Regions from separate parts of the Homo sapiens genome. Here regions 1 and 2 are each linked to region 3. The links are contacts of gene promoters, found by promoter capture Hi-C in blood cells and fetal thymus (Javierre and others, 2016). All regions are on one chromosome and are shown on one strand. The core of a region is centred on a gene start or on the middle of the fragment in contact, and the rest is flanking DNA. Distances in the headings are between cores, read along the strand shown.

Region 1 (4,310 bases), core at 1,577-4,076, 360 kb after region 3:
TAATTTAACTAGCAAAAGAGGTCTACCTTTTAGCCTGTCTTGGGTTTTGATATGCCTCCCTCACTAAGCTTAATCATTTCTAGCTTCTGATTTAAAATGAGAGATGTGCATCTCTTCCACTTCAACACTTAAGAGGTCACTGTAGTTATTAATTGGCTTAATTTCAGTAATGTTGTATCTCAGGGAGTAGGGAGGCCCAAGAAGTGGGAGAGAAAAGGGAGAAGGAAGAGGGAGCAGTCAGAATAGACACAAAAATTAAGTATGCCATCCTATGGGCACACTCCAAAATGATTACAATAGTAACATCAAAGATCACTGACTGTAGATCACTGTAACAGACAGAATAATAATGAAAAAGTTTGGATACCAAAATGTGAGAAAGAGACATGAAATGAGCACATGCTATTGGAAACACGTTCAGCTGATAGACTCGCTTGATGTAGGGTTGCTAAAAACCTTCAATTTGTTAAGGAAAAAAAAGTGCATTATCTATGAAGTGCAATAAATCAAAGTGTAATAAAATGAGGTACACCTGTACTTTGTCTTCATCGAGCACTTCTCATATTTGCCAAGTTCCCACTGATTGCTGAGTAATAAGAATAAAGTTAAAATATTTTAAATACTGTATCATCACAGCTCAATGGGATGTTGTGCCTAACAGTGACCCAGAATAGAATTATTACATTTCAAAATGCAACTTTCCACTTCTAAACTATACAACTACAGCTACTGTCTGTTAATATACATACAACTCCAGTTAACAGCTTCTATTAGCAAAGTAAAATGTAATTACTTTGCCTGTAAGGTACAGATTAACTTTTTCCCCACAGGTCTATCTTATACTTGAAATGTAGGTGAACACTGAGTCCTGTACCTGTTTCTAATTAGCCTGAATTAGTTGCACGTATTTAGAATACCATGCATGTTTTAATGTCTTACTGTAATTTCTGAAATTTTTATTTTAAAATATTAACTAATTTTAACATGGAATCATATGGAAATCCTTTAACCAAAAGCAGATTACCCTCGCCTTTTTATCTTGAATGTGAAAGCACATTTTTACAATGTTAAATTTTTTAAGTGAGTAAAATTTGTAATTTGCATCAGGTCATTTTACAGATAAAATATAAACTGCACTATTGGCTAGATATCACATGTTCAAATCTATAATTTTAGCAAGTATGTATTAATGTTTTGAATTGTTAAAAAAAAGTCAATCTTTTCAAATAAAGTGATTTTCCAAGGTAATGTCTTATTTAGGGCTTATATTAAATTTAATCCCCGCAATCCTTACTGTATTATGTAGGTCTCTTATTTTATTCTTTCAGAGTTTACAGTAGCTGTCAGAATTGATTAAACCTACTTAACCTATGCTGCATATAATAGAAGAGCTTAGAAGGCATTTGCTTGTTGACTTTCTAGAGAGCCAGAAATGATAACATCTGCTTAGCAGAAAAATGCCTGGGAAAGCTTCACTAGAGGGTCCTTCTCTATCACAACAATGCTCCTGCTCATTCCTCTCATCAAGCAAGGTTAATTATTTATGAATTATCTCTGAAGTTTTGTGGCTGCAATTTATCTTGAACTACCATTTGGGGTTCTATATGAACTATTAACAGTTCTTAAGCTTTTCTGCATAGTGACACATCTGAAAAAGTGTGAACCCATATACAATATAACTATCAGTGAAGTCTCATTCTAGGTAGACTCATGGATTAGTAAGCTTGCAAGTTTTGTTCAGTTCCTCTATCTGTAATTCCGATGTTTTCTGAACCATTGGTACACAAAACACTTACTGATATATTAGGAGATGAGAGACAATAAAAACCACACAGGAACAGCTATAGGTTTATATAACTCACACGAGAGTTATGATTCTACCAGCTTGTGACATGAGCATTAATTCTATTAACAATCCAAATGAATCAAATTGTCTTATTTGCAGAACACAGGAAAGATGTATTTTCTATTCACTTAGAACATGTTCAAGTGTTCACCTAGAAGGCTTTTAACAAAGTAACACATTGAACAGCTATTTTGTATGTGAAGCTCACCAGCATGATGTAGAAAATAAGATTAAAATGCCACCCTTGGCCAGATGTGGTGGCTCATGCCTGTAATCCTGGCACTTTGGGAGGCCAACGTGGGTGGATCGCCTGAGGTCAGGAGTTCGAGATCAGCCTGGCCAACATGGTGAAATCCTGTCTCTACTAAAAATACAAATACAAAAATTAACTGGGTGTGGTAGCGGGCACCTGTAATCCCAGCTATTCAGAAGGCTGAGGCAGGAGAATCGCTTGAACCCAGGGGGCAGAGGTTGCAGTGAGCCAAGATCGTGCCACTGCACACTGGTCTGGGTGACAAAGCAAGACTCCGTCTCAAAAAAAAAAAAAAAAAAAAGCCACCCTTGCTTAGAAGGAACAAACTGTATAAAATCAAGTAGCTGTAATAAATTTTTAACGATAATATATGAAAAACATATAGATTTATATGTATTTTTTGCGACTGGTACGCTATTTTAGTTTTCTTTTTTTTTGTGGTGCCATCATGGCTCACTGCAATATCAGCCTCCCAGATTCACGCGATTCTTGTGCGTCAGCCTCCCAAGTAGCTGGGATTACAGGTGCGTGCCACCAGGCACACCTAATTTTTGTATTTTTAGTAGAGAGGGTTTTCCCCATGTTGGCCAGGCTGGTTTCTAACTCCTGATCTCAAGCGATCTGCCTGCCTTGGCCTCCCAAAGTGCTGGGATTATACAGGTGTGAGCCACCGCGCCTGGCTGTATTTTAGTTTTCTAAATTAAATACAATTGTGATAGAGCAATATAAAATTGAAATTTGATTTGAAGTTTAATTTATTGCTCTGAAATAGAAAAAATAAACCTATTATTACTGTACAAAGGATGAAAGTATAAGAATCTATTCTGGTATACAATTTTCTAAAATGCAATGGAAAATGCAGAACTGTATTTTTATGGCCATTTTCACACAAAGTTGCCAATCAAATTAAATCTACTTCCAAAATAACTATACCTTTATCCAAAACTCTAAAATCAAAAAGCTCTGAGAAGTTTTGCTGTAAGTTTGCAGCAAGCTCACTTGGCATCCAAACCTGATCTGAACTGATTTTTAAATTTCTTTTATTTAGTATATATACTTACACATTTTGCTACATAAATATTAATGTTTTTATTATGGTACACTTCCCCACATTCTGCTAGAAATATTTAAGATACAGTATATTACATTATTACTGTTCGAAACTCCAAAAGATTTCTAAATTTCAAACATATATATCCCCTAGAGTTTTAGATGAGATCGAACTTGTATTAGTTTTATAAAACCTTAAGCCCACAAACTTACCAAATTCTCTTCTTTCCAATGTTATGATTTCAGGATCATCATCATAAATACCTAATTTTAAAAGTATATAAAAATTATAAAATCAAAACTTCACCATATAAATTGCAACATAAAAATAGATTACTCGTTTTAATCATCAAAAAAATCAAACTACTATATTATATCTCAAACTTAGAGAATATGCAACATCCTAAGTGAAAAAAAAGTAAATAATACTATCAGTACATTTAGGGTGATCTAAAGATATTAGAATTCTGATATGGACTCTCATAGATGTGTATGCGGTAGTTCGTAATATTCACATAATTTTACCTCCATATAAAATTTATATTATGGTTTTAAAAATAATTACAGATTCAGGAAGGTGCAAAAATATAGACTCTTGTATACTTTTTACTCACCTTCCTCTAATGGTGACATGTTATGTAGCTATATAGCACAATATCGAAAACCAGGAAATTGAGAGTGGTACACTGTTAACTAGACTACAGACCTCATTTGATTTTCAGATTATATGGTTTTTAACACATGGTATCATGTTAGAATATCTTCTGCTAAAAAGCTTAGAGTATTTGCAGAGGCAGACACAAATATTTAGTAAATATACATTTTTTAGGCTTTGTGGGATGTATGGCTTCTATCACAACTTCTCAACTCTGCTCTTGAAGTGTGAAAGAAGTCACATATATTATGTAAACAAATTAAAGTAATTCCATTCCAATAAAACTTATTTATAAAAGCAAATGGCAAGCCAGATTTGGCCTATGAAATGCAGTCTGCTAACTCTTGATATAGACTATCAAGGTGTAGAGAATATACTTGAAAATACTATTTTGAAAAAAAATCATATTTACTAAAAGCAAATCCTCCAGATATAAATTTAAAATACTTCATTTAGTCTAATACAGAAGCATATTCAGTTCTTAGCCTGCATTTGAGGTTAATTAA
Region 2 (4,527 bases), core at 284-2,783, 410 kb after region 3:
GTGGTTTATATAGCATTTTTACTTAACACCATCATCCCTTAATGACCTGCACCTGGCAACCTTCATGTGCTCCAAATGGGCCCGTGTGTGGCCCATGTTCCCATGGGATGCTCCGAGGGCTCAGATGTTCCTAATAGACAAGGAATGAATCTCTGGGTTGGCCACTCCCGGATTCCTTAGCTCAGAACGCACACGCAGGTGCGTCTGCCATATGGGAGCATTTTCAGGGTATGCTTATGTCATTGCTATCAGGGTGTTTACCATACACATGGCGTAAAAGGTGGATTCAAAGGAGAGAGTTAAGAAGTGTGGGAACCACCTATGATAAGGCAGTCAAGAGCTGTGCGAATAGAATGTAAAATACAAGGGATTATAAACAGAATTAATGACGAAAATATGAGTGATGGGGAGTTCATTAAAAATCTTTAATCAGGAAGATGGGAAAGAAATAACATGCTTAATAGGGAAAAATAGCGAAGGTTGCTGTTTTAAAGAAGGGTGAGATCTTAACAAAAGGTAAAGTCAGAGAAGAGACTGAAAATAGAAAACAAAACAAACTTCCAACTTTTAATACATGGAAACTATAGCAAAATTCAACAAATTTTCCTTGACTGGTGGGAATATTTGTTAAAAGATGGGTTAAAAACCCACATCTGGGAACAGTCTTTGACTTTGTCAAAACAATAATTCCCATCACTTTAATTAAGCAACACCTGACCCTACTGGGCTATTGTATTAAAAGTCACACCTAACAAACAAAATGGGCCAAAACAAGTAGTATTCCTTTGTTTTGAGGAATGATCTTTGGAGTCCTGTAAATAGTGTGTCTGGGGTGAGTGAAGGGTCAGTACACTTAATCTTGCCTTATTAAAGGTTATTTGGTCTTTTCAGTCTAGAATAGCTTCTTTGGGGGAAACAGTTAATTCAAAGTTCAACCTTCCTGAAAGGCTGTTTCTCTCCTCTATCAAAGGCCTCTTGAAAGGAAAATGGATATGCTGTGGTCAAGAATAGGCCAAGATAAACATCCAGTACAGCATGATGAGTGGGATTGGAGCACAGGTGCACAGTCCCATGCATTATGTAACCTGTTTGTTAAGCTCATACTTGGCTCTGAGCCACTGTTGTCTGTAAGGAGTGTAACTGCCCTGCTGCCACCGGCTCGCACGAGGCAGGAGAGAGAGAGAGAGTAAAGCTGCTGACTCTGTAAGAGAGAGCCAGAGCTAACCACCTTGCAGGCAGACAGTGGGGAGCCAGGAAATGGTGAGTGCTCCAGGGAGTGCAGCTGTATGCGTTGGGGCAGCAGGAGCCGAAGAGCTGGCTGCTGAGAAGGGCTGTGGCAGGAGCAGGCAGCCGAGACAAAGGCTTGTGCCCAGAGAGAGAATAAAGCCATATTTCACCTGACTGCAGCCCCCTGAGTGTTCTTTCAACTACCTACCAGTCATCCACCAACTCCCCCTTGAACCTCAGTTTGGGCTCAAACCTGACATCTCTCTTCCATTTCCTCCATTTCTAGAGACTGTCTAGGGGTATGCATGTGTGTGTGGCTTACAGTTACTCTTGGTGGCCTCTATTGGTTTTTTTTGCCTTTTTTTCGGTCTCATGCTAGTCTCCACTGAAGTGAAGTTGATTGGTCTGGTCTAATCTTGCAGAGGTATGCTTATAACACTCATCTGTAAGTGCCCTCTGCCTAAGTCCATGGTTCCTACCATTTGTCACTGTTGTGATGTGCCTGCCCCATATCTCCTGTCTTGACTGCAGATCTCTAGTTGTCCAGCATCCTTCTCAGAACCCCTACAAATCCTACGTCTCTGAGCCCTTGGGAATCATAAGTCAGCTGTGGAGAATTGGTGCTACCTCAGGCTACTCTTAAATACTCACTGCTCTCTGATCATGGACTAATACCTCTCAGCCATGCTATACTGAGAAGGACAGAGCAGCCTCCCAGATAATTTTGGATTCCTTCTCCACCCATTTAGGAATCTCTTTTCCCTTTGACTGAAGTCCATGGGTTGGGAAGGGTGTTGCATCTTCATCAGCACCATCCCACTTCCCTCCTTCAATCCTTTCCCTTAGCAGACTCTAATATCTCTGGTGGGACTTCCTTGATATTATATCTCAAGTATTCTTTACACTATGGCTTCTAATAAAGCCCTATTTTCAGATCCCAAGGGTTTACTTTTCATTTGAAAGAAAGAGATTTTGGAACTTATAAAATCTCTCATTTTGGGTTGCAGTTTTGGAAGTTGAACATTGACATTGTTCTGTCTTTTCCAGATATAGCAATTCTAATCCCTCTGTGACAGAATCTCTTCTGTTTGGACTGTTGACTCACAAAGCCTAAAATATTTACAATCTGGTCCTTTACAGAAAATGTTTGTTGACTTCACATGTGCAGAAAGGAATCTAAAAGTTTAGGACTCCAAAGACTTCGAACAGGAATGATTTGTTATATGGGTGCTGTGTCCCTCTACCCTCAACTGTATTGTCTGAGGAGACTCAGAGGATACTCCCTTGAAAGCAGTGAGAAACACATTAGTGAGGGGAACACCCACACTCTGAAGAGCACTGTAGTGGCTCTCATATGTAAGCCACATATGATGGTGGGAAATACCACCATTGTGATGGGTTCCCTGATTCCAATAGGGATGATGGGACCCTGAAAGAGCAGAGGCCAATGGACAATACTTAACTGCCAAAGATAAAGCAGCCATATTTGTTATAAAGGCTGGCAGATTCTGATTACTGTAAAGGTAATCAGACTATTTAGACCTGCAGGAATTTTTGGTAGTGACTAATTGACCATGTGGTTACCAGAAATGAAAATGATGAGCAGCCTACTAAAAAGCTGCTTAATTTATAAAACAGAAACTGCAGGTCTGGTGGCTAAAAACCTGACTTGAGCCACCTAGTGGAGAGTGATGGATTTCTACCTACTTTTTAGAGCTAAACCAGTTCACAGGTTAGAACCCCCTGATTCAAGGGGAGGCCAGGTTCTTTTGAAGAAGGATGCTACAGCAGAACCAAATATAGAATGTAAAATTTCCCCTGATTCTTTCCCAAAGGGTGACTTACTAGCAGGACTGTGCACTGGGAAAAAGGAAGTACCTAGACCGTGACTGTGTACTGGGAAAAAGGAAATACCCAGACTATTCAGATATTCCTAGACACTTAATATGAACTGATGCTATTCCTGGGCACTCCAAACCTGCTATACTGTACCAGTCAAATGGGAGCTTATGGTGGCCAGGTGATAGACAAAGGCTTAGATAGAGGTAGAAGTTAGCTGGTAATTTCTTCCCTGGTTCCTGAATGTAGAGTTGCAATAGACATACTTGGCAATTGGCAAAATCTCTGTTTCTTGCTACCTTGTCAAGCTTTACCCTTTTGAGTATGTTATTGTCTATAATTTTTTTTTTTTTTTGAGACAGAGTTTTACTGTTGTTTCCTAGGCTGGAGTGCAATGGCATGATCTCAGCTCACTGCAACCTCTGCCTCCCGGGTTCAAGCGATTCTCCTGCATCAGCCTCCTGAGTAGCTGGGATTACAGGCATGCGCCACCACACCCGGCTAATTTTGTATTGATGGGGTTTCACCATGTTGGTCAGGCTGGTCTCGAACTCCTGATCTCAGGTAATCCACCCACCTTGGCCTCCCAAAGTGCTGGGATTACAGACGTGAGCCACCACACCCAGCCCCTTGTCTATGATTTTTTAAAACATGTAGTAATCTTTAATTCGTTAAGCCAAATTTATGTGTGTTTATTAATTTAAGCATGTACATTTTTTGAGGGGTGATTTTTTAAAATTTAATTTTAATTTTAAGTTCTGGGTTACATGTGCAGGATGTGCAGGTTTGTTACTTAGGTAAGCATGTGACATGGTGGTTTGCTGCACCTATCAACCCATCACCTAGGAATTAAGCCTTGCATGCATTAGCTATTTATCCTGATGCTCTCCCTCCCTGCTGACAGGCCTCAGTGTATGTTGTTCACCTCCCTGTGTCCATGCGTTCTTATTGTTCAGCTCCTATTTATAAGTGAGAACATGGGGTGTTTCCTTTTCTGTTCCTGTGTTGGTTTGCTGAGAATGATGACTTCCAGCTCTATCCATGTTCCTGCAAAAGACATGATTTCATTCCTTTTTATGGCTGCATAGTATTCTATGGTGTATATGTACCACACTTTCTTTATCCAGTCTATCATTAATGGGCGTTTGGGTTGATTCCATGTCTTTGCTATTGTAAATAGTGCTGCAATAAACATATGTGTGCATGTATCTTTATAATGGAGTGATTTATATTCCTTTGGATATATGCCCAGTAATGGAATTGCTGGGTCAAATGATATTTCTGGTTCTAGATCTTTGAGGAATCGTCACGCTGTCTTACACAATAGTTGAACTAATTTACATTCCCACCAACAGTGTAAAAGCATTCCTATTTCTCCACAGCCTCACAAGCATCTGTTGTTTCCTGACTTTTTAATAATTGCCATTCTGACTGCTGTGAGATGGTATCTCATTGTGGTTT
Region 3 (4,194 bases), core at 1,465-3,964:
AGCTTGGGCAACATGGTAAAACCGCATCTCTACAAAAAGTACAAAAAAATTAGCCAGGCATGGTGGTGTGCACCTGTATTCCCAGCTATTCAGAGGCTGAGGTGGGACGATCGCTGGAGCCTGGAAGGCAGAGGTTGCAGTGAGCCAAGATCGTGCCACTGCACTCCACCCTGGATTTATTTTGAGACCCTATCTCAAAATAAATAAATAAATAATAAATAATTATCTGTCTATATATAATGTTCAAAGCCTAGGACAAAAATGCTGTCTAAAATCTTTTCTCCATTTTTAAATGGTTCGAGGGCCTATGTAATATTTTTTAAATGCAGTCACTTTTTAGAGTTTACGAACTAAAAAAGATTACATTTTTACAACTCTTCATTTTCTTTATTCATCACCCAAACCAAAAGTTGTTTGGCATGCGATGCTGGGAGGAAGCTGTGTCGCTTTGAGGAGGTGAAAGAAGCTCTTAGAACCAACCTGCAAACAACCCCAGTCTCCCAGACGTAAACTAAGTCTGGTCAGAAACAACTCTTTCAACATTCATGTAGAAGAACTGCGGGTGGAACCACCCATGGATCCTTTAGGAATGAGGCACTTGTAATTAGGCAGAAAAAGGTGAGCTTTCAGAAGGGAGGAGGTTGCTCCTGATGAAAGTATCCCATTCCAGAGAAGACCTTATTAGGGCTAGTTTCAGAAGTTCCTCCCAGGACTCTCCCACTATCCTGGGGAGGTTTCCAACCCCAATCTCAGAACACTACCTTGATCAGTTCACTTTGGGTAAGTCCACAAATAATAGTAATAAGCAAAGTTCATGAAGACCCTAAATTGGTGAATGATATATGAAAATTCTACCATAATTATTCCAAGCCATGATTACTACAGTGGAAGCCAAAATAACTGAAAAATGTGCCAGGACGTATTTTCTTTCCTAGATATGGTGAGCAGGGCCTAGGTGAACTTTTCAGATTACCTAAATAACTCACTTTTTCACTGTAAATGTGACAAGAATATGGTACAGTTTTTCACGGGACTGTAGAAACTAGTTAGAGACATTTATTTGGTGAATTTAAAGACAGCCTATGTAACAATTCATATAATATTTAATAACTTATATGTACACTGCAATTGATTTGCATCAAAAACCTTTTACAACAACCTCAGGAGGATCCTATGACATAAGCAGATACTGTTACTTCATCTTTACAAATGGCTTTTTGGAGGACCAGAAAGGATAAATGGCTTGCACCAGCTAATCTAGTAAATTAGAGGCGGAGCAGGATTGAAAACTTGGTCTATGTGAGGCAGCCTAGTATAACAATGGACAGCAGGAGTCCATCAGACTTGGGCTTGATGCATACGTCTGTTATTTACCAGGTGTGTTACCTTGTGTAAATTACTTCACCAATTTTAAATCCTGGTTTCTATTTGTAAAACAAAGCTGATAATCCCTACTTCACAGGATTCCTCAAAGGAGTAAGACACTAGGTGAACAGCACCTGGGCTATTTCTCAGTCTTCTCTCTATTCAAGAATGCCTTAGCTGCATAGTGATAAGTCATTTAGTCTTTCCAAGTCTTAATTTCTCTATTCATAAATAGAAATAATTCAGACGTACTTGAAAACATTCTTGACTATTTTTTTAAGAACACCATACCATATTCTTGCCAAATTAACAAGTTTGCACTTTTATAACCTTGCTTCATTTGCTATTTGTGAACTATGCTTGTATAGGGGCTCAGTATTTCCATAATACGAAATAAATCATAAGATCTTAAGATCTCCTTCTCTTAAACACTCCAAAAACAGACACCATGAACAGACGTGGCCACAGGAGGCATGTATTCCGCACGGTCTGTAAGAGCTGCGCAGGCCAGCAAGCACAGGACTATTTCGAGTATTAACTTTTCTATAACTTTAACCATTGTCACTTGTAGTTCTGCCTGATACAAACATTCTTTTTTCATTCCTTTTTTTTCAAGCTGTATTTTTTATAAGCCAAGAAAACACAACATCAATGTGTTATTCTCCAGAGAAGTTAGAGAAACGGGAAGAAAGCTTTTCTAAAATTCAAATATGCAGTGCCAAGTGCTACGAGAATAGCATCTATGCTTCTTATGGGTACACTGTGAGGCAGAAACGGCTCTAGCTGGCTAATGGAAGTTCCATATCCAAAAAAGGAAACAGTTCAGCTTTTCGGCAGGATAGCTGATAATACAGACTATTACGCATAAAGGGGGAAAATGAGAACGTAATCTGGCTAAAAGGACTCAATGATCTAGTGGCAAGTCGATATACTCACCTAGGAGCAACCATGGCTTAATAACGCCAACTTGCAGGTCCGAGCTAAGGTCCTGCACATAACCACAACCACCCCCACTGCTCGGCTCTACTTCTTCCACAACATGAATTCTGGCATCTTTCCATGTTTCTATAATTTTCTTTCCAGTTAGCGTTGTCACCCTGGTGCATTGCTTCCTGAGATTATTCCGGGAGAATGCTTTAATTTCCTGGTTAAGGGAGTACATTACATGAGCAGTGGCTGGGAACAAATACAAACAAATCCAGCAGGCATAGAAAACGGCTGAACTGCTAGTCCCTTATTGCCCAGGTAACAAAGCCAGCCTCAGAGGTGCTCGCCCATCCAGGTAACCGCAGCAGCCACAGACCAAGAGACTGAGTCGTCCAGCTCCGTTTATCCCAGCGATGCAATGTAAGGCGAAATTTGATTGGTCATTGAGACACAAGTGCCGATTGGATGCTGTTTCTTCTTCCTGTCAGCCAGAAACCTGCATTTTCCCGAAAGGCTCGAGGGATCCACTGGGGAAGATTTCTTATTGTTGCTGTTTAAATTTAGCTTTCTAATACACGCAGAATGGTAAAATATAAGACTTCGTTGGAGAGAGGAATGATATGTCCTGGTTCTTTAAAGGCAGTGATTTTCTGATATATTCTGTTAGTGTCACTTACGGCAGTGACCATGGACGATCCGGGCTGACCTGTGTATCGCTCCCGCTTGAAAGAGACCGGCGGAGTCACCTTGCAAATCACCCTATGTCCCAAAGCCTTTCCTGCCTGTCTGCTTTTAGGCTAGTCCAGGAGGGCTAGAGCAGACGTTAAAAGTTATTTCTCGCTTCCTGTATCCTTCACACCTTCTGCTTTTGCTGTTAATGCAAGAGGAACGTTTACTAGATAAAGTTGTTGTGCGTATTTGTGAGGCAACAATTTAAATAAACTGGGAAAAAAGATATATTTTTTAAAATTTATGCTCATATATGTAGATTGACAAGAGCTTAAAATTTATTTATTTTCTGACTTTCAGCCTACATTTTCATTTCATACAGTAAATATACATCCTAAATAAGAATTGCAGCAAGTCCATCCATACGAAGAATTAAGAAAATCAATTGTGTAAGCATCCAAATTTGTAAAACAGATAAATAAATTATAGAACGATGATTCTGATTACCAAAAAAAAGTTTTGCAAAAGAAATCACAAGATTCCTTTAAAGAGAAATTTTTCAAACCCCTATTAAAGTAAATGTAATTTTAAATGAATTTCAACACAATGTATAAACACATATATAAAATGAAGAAGTTGCACTTATGAAAACTTTTCTTCCAATACCACATATTAAAATTTGTGTTGTTGTTGAAACTTTCTGACATAAAAAAATTCAACTGTTATGGATTGACTATTTCTGTCCCTTCAAAATGCATATGTTAAAGCTTTAAACCTCAAGGTGATGGTATTTAAATGGGACTTTTGGGATGTAATTTAGGATTAGACTAAGACCCTAGGGTAGGGTCCTCATGATGGGTTTAGTGGCTTCAGGAGAACTGAAAGAAATCTGCCTGCTCCCCTATATGGACCAAGGAAAGACAGTATGAGGACATAAGGAGAAGCTGGCTGTCTGCAAGCCAGGAAGAGAGCTTTCAGCAGGAACTGAATAGGCCAGCACCTTGATCTTGGACTTCTCAGCCTCCAGAACTGTAAGAAAATATATTTCGGTTGTTTAAGCAACAAAGTTTATGGCATTTTGTTAGAGCAGCCTGAGCAAACTGAGATATAAACCAAACTTCTCCCTCTTGAAAAAGGAATAGGCCCAGTACAGTGGCGCATGCCTGTAATTCCAGCACTTTGGGAGGCCAAAATGGGTGGATTGCTTGAGCCCAGGAGTTCGAGACCAGCCTG

Evidence for each region. The method cuts DNA at HindIII sites, captures the fragments that hold promoters and counts their contacts. A CHiCAGO score of 5 or more calls a contact.
Region 1: a fragment that was not itself captured here is called in contact with the fragment with the promoter of DUSP19 in region 3 in 4 of 17 cell types (non-activated CD4 T cells, total CD4 T cells, total CD8 T cells and 1 more); the score reaches 9.4 in non-activated CD4 T cells.
Region 2: a contact is called between a fragment that was not itself captured here and the fragment with the promoter of DUSP19 in region 3, in 7 of 17 cell types (activated CD4 T cells, naive CD8 T cells, total CD8 T cells and 4 more). The highest score is 10.0, in activated CD4 T cells.

The regions. Positions count from the first base shown.
Region 1 is chr2:182,721,128-182,725,437 of GRCh38, reverse strand. DNAJC10 (DnaJ heat shock protein family (Hsp40) member C10) reads right to left here. Exons shown (of 24, transcript NM_018981.4): 5 at 3,363-3,413. Among named protein-coding and RNA genes, the nearest start is that of DNAJC10, 7.0 kb to the right of the region's middle. The HindIII fragment of the contact is 2,201 bases long and covers 1,726-3,926 here.
Region 2 is chr2:182,665,503-182,670,029 of GRCh38, reverse strand. It overlaps LOC101929976 (a long non-coding RNA gene), which reads left to right. Exons shown (of 7, transcript XR_427200.3): 7 at 3,450-3,480. It also overlaps a transcript of PDE1A not described here. Among named protein-coding and RNA genes, the nearest start is that of DNAJC10, 48 kb to the left of the region's middle. The HindIII fragment of the contact is 3,687 bases long and covers 1-3,376 here.
Region 3 is chr2:183,077,267-183,081,460 of GRCh38, reverse strand. DUSP19 (dual specificity phosphatase 19) reads right to left here and starts at 2,714. Exons shown (of 4, transcript NM_080876.4): 1 at 2,302-2,714. The coding sequence starts at 2,527. The HindIII fragment of the contact is 1,671 bases long and covers 2,060-3,730 here.